Regions from separate parts of the Homo sapiens genome. Here region 1 is linked to region 2. The links are contacts of gene promoters, found by promoter capture Hi-C in human tissues and cell types (Jung and others, 2019). All regions are on one chromosome and are shown on one strand. Each heading gives the region's core, a stretch centred on a gene start or on the middle of the fragment in contact. The rest is flanking DNA. Distances are from core to core; before and after follow the strand shown.

Region 1 (5,317 bases), core at 2,200-4,699, 75 kb before region 2:
TGGCTATTTTTAAAATATTCAAATTTATAATCTGGTTTAACTGTAAATTTAACTCATTTATGTTTATTGGATTAATAACATATCTGGAACACTCCTACCATTTTTTTATTGTCTATTGTCCTATTGTCTCTGGTTATTTTCCTTTCTTGGCTTTTAAAAAAATTGAATTTGCTTATTTTTCTATTTCATTATTTTCTCTTTGCTGGGTTATGGGAGACAATCATACAGTTTCTACTCTTTTAGTTGTTACCCTTGAAGTGCTGCCATTTTAATTCCCTTCCTAAATAAGACAAGGACTTAAAATAATTTTAATTCTCATCACTCCCCCGACTCTCTCTCTGACATGCTTCTGTCTTTTCATGTTTTTATTCTGTTCTTAATTCCACAAATTACACATAATCCTTATTTTGTACAGACTATGAATGTTAAAATGAATGTGTTTACAGCCAGGTGCGGTGGCTCATGCCTGTAATCCTAGCATTTTGGGAGGCCGAGGTGGGCAGATCACTTGAGATCAGAAGTTCGAGACCAACCTGGACAACATGGCGAAACTCCGTCTCTACTAAAACAATACAAAAAATTTAGCCCGGCATGGTGCATGACTGTAGTCCCAGCTACTCTGGAGGCTGAGGCAGGAGAATGGCTTGAATTTGGGAGGCAGAGGTTGCAATGAACTGAGATCACGCCACTGCACTCCAGCCTGGTTGACAGGGCAAGACTGCATCTTAAATAAATAAATAAATAAATAAATAAATAAATAAATAAATAAAATAAAATTTTTGAGTTTACCAATTTCCATGTACTCCTTTTCTTCCTTCTGGGACCATGCCCCTTCTTCCTCGAAAATAACCTTTAAAATGTTTAATAAAAACCTTTAATGAAAGATCGGCTAGTAGAAAACGTTCTGCTTTCACTTGTCTGAAATCTCTATTGTATATCGTTTTTCTCGAAAGATATTTTTGCTGATATACAATAACAGCCTGGCAGTTATTTTTGCTCAGTTATTTGAGAATAATATTCTAACACCTTCTGGCTTCCATTTTTACTGTTGAGAAGTTGAGTTATCAGTCCAGTTTACACTACTTTCTAAGTGATCTTTCTTCTCCAGCTGCTTTTAACATTTTGTCTTTGGGGTTATATAGTTTGACTAAAGTTTTGTTTTTCTGTTTCTGATGGGTATATGTTGGGCTTGCTGTATTGATGAACTCATGTCTTCTATTAAGTCAAAAAAATTCTCAGAATTTCTTCAGTTATCACCTCTCCTCCTTCCTCTATTCTATCTTTCTGGGACTCATTTTGACATACCTGACCTCATTCCATCCTTTAACGTCTCTTTTAATATTTTCATTTTCCTTTTTTCCTGCAGTCTTGAAAATTTCTTCAGTTCTAACTGCCAGTTAGCCAACTCTTTCCTCAGTTGGGTCCAATTTACTGTTTAACACATCCATGAAATTTTAGATCACAAAGTTTTCAATAAAAAAAGTTTTTTCAGGTCCTTTTCATATCCTCCTGGTTGTTTTTCACACTCCTGTTATGTGCTCATTTGTGATTCTATTTTTTATTTCTTTAACTATTTCGCACATAATTGCTTTATATTCCTATCCAATTCCAACATCTTAAGAGTCTTTAGGAGATAGGGGTTCTAAATCAAATAGATAACTTATTTTTGTTAGTGCTCATTCATGGCAGCTTACTTCATTGTTTATGTGCTGGCTTTTATTGTTTTTGTTTACTATGAACACTTGTTTAACTTAATCTGCAGGATTTCCAAGGCCCTAAATTATGGTTGATCCTTTGGAAGAGGTTTTCATTCCCTTCTGCTGGAAGCCAGGGTATCTACCAATTTAAAACCATTTTATACCCTTTTGAGGGTTCAACTTAATACAAGAGTCTCAGGTTGGTACACCTATCTTGCTACCGGCCTAAGGCTTTGTCACGAATTTCATCATTGATATTTATTATCTGTCTTTGAGAGCAACCCTGCTTTTTGCCCTTGTTTGCTGTTTGACCCGTCCCACCCCGATTAAAGTTCACTTTTTGATCTGGATGATGGGAGAGGCTGGGAGGGAGGAGGTCAGAGAAAGGAGAGACACAGAATCAGAGAGCAGAGGAGTGGGAAGAAAAATAAAAACCTAAGAAATTTCACGTACTTACTGTAAGCCCAGGATCTGATTATTTTGCAGCTAAAAGGCCTTTCAGAGGATGTAGTTGACCACACTTAAGTTATTACTAACTCTTTACTTTTGAAGAACCAAACACTAATTGTCTGTGCTATATATTTTTTAAATGTAATTTTATAGATAGCTGGCTAAACACAATCCAAATTATAAAATAACATAATCCAAATTAATGTCTGCACACAGAACACAAATCTGAAATGACAAAAGATTGTCATGTGTCATCAGTCAAAACAAAAACAGCACTACAACACAAGCTTACAGGGTCACCTGTAAAGATACTCAACTGAAAGGACAAGTTAGGACTGAAATCCAGCCTATATTCTGCCCACCAATCTATTTACTCTAGCATGTTGTTGCAATGGCCTGGATGAAATGGAACATTTTTCTAATTTGCACAAAGGTACCAAATGTACTACTGAGCTGGTAGAAGAGTAAAATGATCCTCAATGTCCAAAAATAATATGAAGGCTGAAATTTAGAGTTACAGGCACAGAAACAACTAGAGTTTGAGCTTCTCCTCTAATGGCCAAAGGAAAAAGCCTAGGACAGGCCCAATGTGAGAAGTCCAAAAAAGCTGATGCAAAGAGTTACACCCCAAATGAAAATACAAACTGGGTAAAAAAAATCTGCCCTAAACAGAAAGACAAGACAGAAACCTGTCTGACTTGACCTCAGTGCTAACTGAAGAGGAGGAAAAAACCTTTAAGTCAGACCTCACATGGTTTGTGGACTACATACAGACTACCAGTGTGATATGAAAATGAGATATGAAACTCCCATTCTAAGGAAATAATTTAAATGGAATTAAGTTGGTGTCCTCCACCTAGCAAATGAACTAAACATTCCAGTAAAAAGAGATGGTCAGAATGGATTTTTTAAAAGGGAACAACTATTTACCACCTACAAAAGACACACTTTAAATATAAAGACACAGGCAGGCAGGAAGTAAATGGATGGAGAAAGATATACTACATAAATAGTAAGCATAAGAAGACAGTGGAGTGGTTACAGTAATATCAGATAAGATAGATTTCAAGAGTAAAGGTCAATAAGGAAGACATAACAATCACAAATGTTTACATGATACAAAAATTTAAGGAATTAGATTATAAACAATTCCACAATCATAACTGGAGATTTAACACCCCTCTCTCTGCAAACAATATAATTACACAGACAAAAGAAATCAATAAAGACAAAGAATATATGAACATTATCTTAATTTATATTTATATTACACCCAAAAATAGCAAAATACATATTCTTTTCAAGTGTATATGCTACGTTTGCCAGGACAGACAATATTCTGGGTCATATGACAAGTCTTAATAAATTTAGAAAGACTGAAATCACACAAAATGATACTTGACCAAGGTAGGTAAAATTTAAAAATCAGTAACAATAACTAGGAAAACTCTAAATATTTGTAACTTAAAAGCACACTTCTAAATAATCCATAAATCACAAAGAACAAAGAAATAATAATTAAATTAGAAATTATCTTTAAATGAAAATAAAAATAAAACAGCGGCTTGGTGGCGCCAAGATGGCCGAATAGGAACAGCTCCAGTCTGCAGCTCCCAGAGAGACTGACGCAGAAGACAGGTGATTTCTGCATTTCCAACTGAGGTACCGGATTCATCTCACTAGGGCTTGCCAAACAAGTCGGTGCAGCCCACCTAGCACGGCGGGGCATTGCCTCACCCTGGAAGCGCAAGAGGTCCAGGAATTCCCTTTCCTAGCAAAGGGAAGCTGTGACAGACGGCACCTGGAAAATCGGGACACTCTCACCCTAATACTGCGCTTTTCCAATGGCCTTAGCAGACGGCACACCAGGAGATTATGACCTGCACCTAGCTCGGAGGGTCCCATGCCCACGGAGCCTCGCTCACTGCTAGCACAAGAGCCTGAGATGGAACTGCAAGGCGGCAGCGAGGCTGGGGAAGGGGCTTGAGCCATTGCTGCGGCTTGAGTAGGTAAGCAAAGCAGCCAGAAAGCTCGAACTGGGTGGAGCCCACGGCAGCTCAAGGAGGCCTGCCTGCCTCTGTAGACTCCACCTCTAGGGGCAGGGCATAGCTGAACAAAAGGCAGCAGAAACTTCTGCAGACTTAAACGTCCCTGTCTGACAGCTTTGAAGAGAGCAGTAGTTCTCCCAGCATGGAGTGTGAGATCTGAGAACGGACCGACTGCCTCCTCAAGTGGGTCCCTGAGTCCCGAGTAGCCTAACTGGGAGGCACCTCCCAGTAGGGGGGCGATTGACACCTCATAAGGCCCGGTGCCCCTCTGAGACTAAGCTTCCAGAGGAAGGATTAGGCAGCAACATCTGCTGTTCTGCAGCCTCAGCTGGTGATACCCAGGCAAACAGGGTCTGGAGTGGACCTCCAGCAAACTCCAACAGACCTGCAGCTGAGGGTCCTGACTGTTAGAAGGAAAACTAACAAACAGAAAGGACATCCACACCAAAACCCCATCCATACGTCACCATCATCAAAGACCAAAGGTAGATAAAACCACAAAGATGGGGAGAAACCAGAGCAGAAAAGCTGAGAATTCTAAAAATCAGAGGGTCTCTTCTCCTCCAAAGGAACGCAGCTCCTCGCCAGCAACGGAACAAAGCTGGACAGAGAATGACTTTGACGATTCGAGAGAAGAAGGCTTCAGACGATCAGTAATAACGAACTTCACCAAGCTAAAGGAGGATGTTCGAACCCATTGCAAAGAAGCTAAACCCTTGCAAAAAGAGTAGACGAATGGCTAACTAGAATAAACAGTGTAGAGAAGTCCTTAAATGACCTGATGGAGCTGAAAACCATGGCACGAGAACTACGTGATGCATGCACAAGCTTCAGTAGATTTGATCAAATGGAAGAAAGGATATCAGTGATTGAATATCAAATGAATGAAATGAAGTTAGAAGAGAAGTTTAGAGAAAAAAGAGTAAAAAGAAATGAACAAAAGTCTACAAGAAATATGGGACTACATGAAAAGACCAAATCTACGTCTGACTGGTATACCTGAAAGTGACAGGGAGAATGGAACCAAGTTGGAAACCACTCTTCAGGATATCATCCAGGAGAACTTCCCCAACCTAGCAAGGCAGGCCAACATTCAGATTCAGGAAATACAGAGAATGCCAC
Region 2 (5,079 bases), core at 1,262-3,761:
ATTCACAGCTTCCTAACCAGAATGCAACTGCTTTGAATGATTCACAGGTATGCCTGAGATATTGATCCCTCTGCCCTCCAAGCATTAGGAGCAGAGCTTGAGACATTGGGGAAAGTGCACACTGATGGCCTTTGGCAATGAGCGGTTTATGTTAATGAGACACACAATTAACATTTTTTATGTATGTCATGATGTGAAAAAGATGTTGACCACTACCCTAACCTCACCCTACACAAATCTGCTTCTTTACTCATCATCTTGATGGTATAATTTTTGCCTAGCTGCCCTTTTGGGTAGGTGACAGTAAGACAGAGGTAATGGGGAACACGGAACTTATGAGTTATGAGGCCTACTCTAACTCTGTAACGTTGGGCAAGTCACAACTGTTTTAAGACTCAGTGTCTTCAGAATGAAACGTATATATGCACACTTTTTAAGTTAGTGGCAGGGCTCACCTCTATAATGAGGATATGAAAACTCAAAATGCTAGGTACTGGTTATCACTATTAACAAATGTTCCTTGAGTTAACTGATTAACAATATGATCCTATATGCTAAAAAGAATTCAAACGGAGAAATTTCAGTTTTTTTCTAGTCAACAAAACTGTCTGATCTTTTATTTGTCCAACTCCGCTTTTAAGCTGTCTACAGGAATGTACTGTGAAGTACTTATGTTGGAATGTACTGTGAAGTACATTCCTGCAAAACCAATATGGGTAGTTTTGACATCAGCAGCTAACTTTTCCAACACTGTGCCTAAATATGAAGAAGTCTTCCAGGGCTTGGTGATTTAACTGTACATCACCTTTCCATGTATGAAAAAATTCCAAAGTTCCACCATACCTTTTAATTTACTCTCAAGATTTACTCGGGCTCTGTGAACATCTGATTACCTATTTACAATCCATAAATCCTCCTTGTAAGATTCTTCCTGTGAAAATTTCCCAGAGGGCATATTTACTAAAGTGGTAATACATTATTTTGACCTGAGGACCCTTAGAAATGGCATGAAGTCAAAAGGTAATGTGTCGGGCTTACTACATAACATTCTAGAACTGTCGATTATCAGACAGTAACTGGTTTTAAAAAAAAGACCCTTTAGAAGAATCAATAAATCAGCCAAGTTATAAATCAGTGTGATCACAGGGGGTTCAAAAGAGTCTACAAGGGGAATGAGATTCTTAGATACACTGTCACCATATTATGAAATTCCCTTCCCTCCCTGGGGTCATCTCCTGCCACCCACTGCCTCCCCTGATCCCATCCCTTTGTCCCAACCAGACTCAACTTTCTGCAGTACACCATGTTCTTCCACAATTCTTTGCCTTGGCTCACACGTCCTTCTACCTCCATATCCTTCCCTTCCTCTTCACCTGGCAAACAACTACGACTCTTTCAAGGACCAGTAGACTGCAAGTTCCCTGAGAGTAGAAACCATAGTTTTGTTCAGAGCTGTTGTATCTTCAGCGCCTAGCATAGTAGGCGCTCAATAATTAATAAATGGAAGAATGGAGGCTCAAAGAATCTTAAAGCATCTCTCAGCTAAGAGCATAGCAGCTCTGCTTCACTCCTTCTCAACATACACATTTGGCTGGCTACCCCCTTTTCTGTGCTATGATACTGTGACTATTTCTACCATACATTTTTCACTTGTACTGTAATTCTCTGTTAACTGTATGAGGGCGAGGATAGTAAGATGTCATCCTTTATCCCCAGAACTTTCCACAATGCTTGAGACACAGTGGGGAGATAATAAATGTTTGCTGAATAACTGAACGGGGATGTCAGAGCAGCCCGAGGATATACAAGCACGCGTCCCATCTTCGTAGCCTCTGCGATCCTCGCGTCCGCGCCCGCGCCCGCGCCCGGCCCGGGTTTCCTCCTCCGAAGAGGCGGCCGCGTAGCCCTCCCTCGCAACTCCCCCCAGACGCAGCCCCTGTCTCCTCTGGCCAATTAAAGTCCAACCGCTGCCGCCGCTCCTTCGGTGGATCCCAAGCCCCCGCTCCGGCTGGGGCTCAACTGTGTGGAGGGAGGCTGACGATAGAGCCGCGCCGGCGACGCGGCGGGAAGGCGGGAAGGCTGCTCCACCGCTCGGCAGCCGCGCGAGGCGCGCCAAAGCCGGCCCAGCTGGGACTCCCACCTGCCCTGGCAACACTAAAGCCGCGGTCAGCGAGCGTGCTGCCGGCGTCCGCACCTTCCCCGGGACGAGCCCTGGGCCTGTCCCCCGCCCCCTCCACCCGCCGCCTCCAACCCAGGCTCGGCCGCCCCTTTCTCGGGCTCCGGCCCGGGCCTGGGGTGTGCAGCCCAGACCAGTGTCCCGGTCCCCGGCTAGGGGCAGAGGCAGGGGCTGGGACTCCGGGGACACCGGCCCACGGCCCTGCGGCCTCCGCCGCTGTCCTCGGCCCTCGGTCTCCAGACGCGTCCCGCCGGGTTCCCAGCGTGGCGGAGCGCGGGCCCGCGGCGCAGAGCACACTGACCTGGAAGTGCAGCGCCATCTTCCCAGGAGGCGGCGCCGGCCAGCCGGCCGGTCGGCACCCAGCGCCCGAGGGGAGGGAGCAGAGGCGGGCGCCGCGGAAGCCCCAGACGCCCGCGGGGTCCCTGCGCCGCTCGTCCTTCGCAGCCTCAGCCAGGCTTCGCGTCCGCATTCGAAGCGCTGGAGGGGCGGGGCTGGGAGGGACGGGGCGGGGCTGGGAGGGACGGGGCGGGGCGACGGAGGCGGTGCACGGGGCGGGGCCGATAGGGGCGTGTCCTCCGGGAATCTCAACCGTCCCTTGCGCTCAAGTTTCAACCGGCGTGTGTTGGTGGGTCATGACCTCCAACCTCTGCCCTTTGACACAACTACCACGACCCACCCGTCAGCCGTGGACCCTGACTCATAAGTCTTCCAAAGGCTCTCTTGACCCCTGACCCTCAAAATACAACTATCGCCCATGGCTCCCGACACCTGCATCTCCACAGATTTTCTTGTCTCCTAACAGCCAGGAACCACAGACACACACAGCCATAACCTTTGACTCCCACATGCCAGCTGTTGCCCTTGACCCCTGACTCCCAGGGCCCAAATTCCATTGTTGCTTAACAATGTTTTTAACTTGATTTTGGTTAAAATTAAACCGCCCATGTCTACATGCTGTTAAGTTGTAAAATTCAAGCTTTACCTCATTCTTTGTCTGCATTTTGTTTAATATGAACTTATATTTTACAACAAATGATTCCACTGCAATGAGAATTTATTGGAGCAGAATTGGGTCAAAGTTGCTGCTTTCTGATGTTCTCCGTTTTTTCTTCAAGTTCAGCATTTCCATTTGGGAGCACTGTGCTGTAGTATTTAAGAGGGAAACTCCCTTAAGCACTTCTTGTATTCAGGTCTGCTAACAACAAAGTCTCTCAGCTTTTGTTAACATAAAATCATCTTAATTCACCTTCATTTTTTAAAGGATAGTTTTGCTGGGTATAGAATTTCACATTGGCTTTTTTTTTAATCTTTCAGCATTTTAAAAATGTCTTCTCATTGTCTTCTGCTTGTCATTGTTTCTATTGAGAAATCAGCCATCAGTCTAATTGTTGCTCCTGTCTTTTGGCCCCCTCCTCAGGTACTTGAACATTTTTCTCTTTTTTTATTTTTTCTTTTTGTCTTCAGCACTTTGTGCTTGATGTCGCTAAGTGTGTGTGTGTGTGTGTGTTGTATTTATCCTGCTTGGGATTCATAAAGCTCTTTAAGTGTGAATGTAATCTTTTTTATCAAGTTTTGAAAAATCTTGGTCACTAGTTCTTTAAATATTGCATCTGTCCCCTTCTCTCTCTCTACCTCTCCATTCTGGAACTCCAGTTACATGTATGTTATAAGTTTTTGCTATATTCCTTATTTCTATTCTGTATTTTTTATTTGCCTGCTGTCCATTCCATAGAAACTCTGTTCTGCTGTGTCTGAGCTGCTATACATCCCCTCTATTGAATTCTTAGTTTTAGTTATAATATTTTCAGTTCTAGAATTTTCATTTAGAAAGTTGAAATTTTCATGGTTCCTCCTCCTCTCCCATTTTAAAAATAGATTCCAAGGCTTTGATGAAATTCTTTGTCTTTATTTTCTTAAACATTTTAACTGTATTATTTAAAGCCCTTATCTGTTAACTCCAATTTCTGAATCATCTGAGTCTTCCTGGGTTTTTGGTGCTTGGCCCTTGGCCCTTTTTTTTCTTTCTTTTTTTTTTTTTTTTTTTTTTTTTTTTTTTTACATATCTCATGATTTCTTGTTGAATTCAAACCATGTAGAAGAAAATTTGTAGAGGCTCTGGATGATAACAGGTTTCTCCAAGGAGGGCTAAGTTTTCTTGTGGTAGGCAGACAAGAGTACTAGTGGATCATTGAGTCTTTTTAATTCTGGTTAACTTCAGTTATGACCTTACTCCTAGGCCATGGTCCTTACTAGGTCTTACAACTAAAAGCCTAGAATGTGGCTGGGCATGATGGCTCATGACTATAATCCCAGCACGTTGGAAAGCCAGAGAGGGTGGATCGCTTGAATCCAGGAGTTTGAGACCAGCCTGGGCAACATGGTGAAAGCCCATCTCTACAAGAAATACAAAAAATTAGCTTGGTGTAGTAGCATGTGCCTGTAGTTCCAGCTACTCGGGAGGCTGAGGTGGGAAGACCCCTTGGGCCCAGAAGCTATAGGCTGCAGTGGGCCGTGATTGCACCACTGCACTCCAGGCCAGGCAACAGAGCAAGAATCTGTCTCAAAAAAACAAAAGCCTGGAATGTTTACCAAGATCCTTCCACCTTGTGGGGCTTGAACTCTAGTCTCTGTCTCTTCAGCCCTGTGTAGCTGCTGAAATCTTTGTTGAGCTCTTTAGGTGCTGTTGTTCTGCTGGATTTCTTAGAGTCTCTTCATGTGCATGTATATCTTAGGAACGGACACAAATTTGGGGACTCACATCTCTATAGTTTCTTTCTTTCTAGAATTTTGTCCTTCAAATCTCAGTTGCTCTTGTTCCGAAACTCCAGCCTTTGCTCCTAGCCTATTGAGACTGCTGCTTTCTATTTAGCTGTTATTCCTTGCTGCCACTTGGAAAATGCCTT

The links. The method cuts DNA at HindIII sites, captures the fragments that hold promoters and counts their contacts. A contact is called where the count stands out against the background at its distance.
Region 1: a contact is called between a fragment that was not itself captured here and the fragment with the promoter of RANBP17 in region 2, in 2 of the 25 tissues and cell types used here (H1 embryonic stem cells and mesendoderm cells).

Annotation. Positions count from the first base shown.
Region 1 is chr5:170,934,813-170,940,129 of GRCh38, reverse strand. The region is part of intron 12 of RANBP17 (RAN binding protein 17); the gene reads right to left. Among named protein-coding and RNA genes, the nearest start is that of RANBP17, 75 kb to the right of the region's middle. The HindIII fragment of the contact is 5,474 bases long and covers 713-5,317 here.
Region 2 is chr5:170,859,450-170,864,528 of GRCh38, reverse strand. RANBP17 (RAN binding protein 17) reads right to left here and starts at 2,511. Exons shown (of 28, transcript NM_022897.5): 1 at 2,478-2,511. The coding sequence starts at 2,495. The HindIII fragment of the contact is 7,494 bases long and covers 1-5,079 here.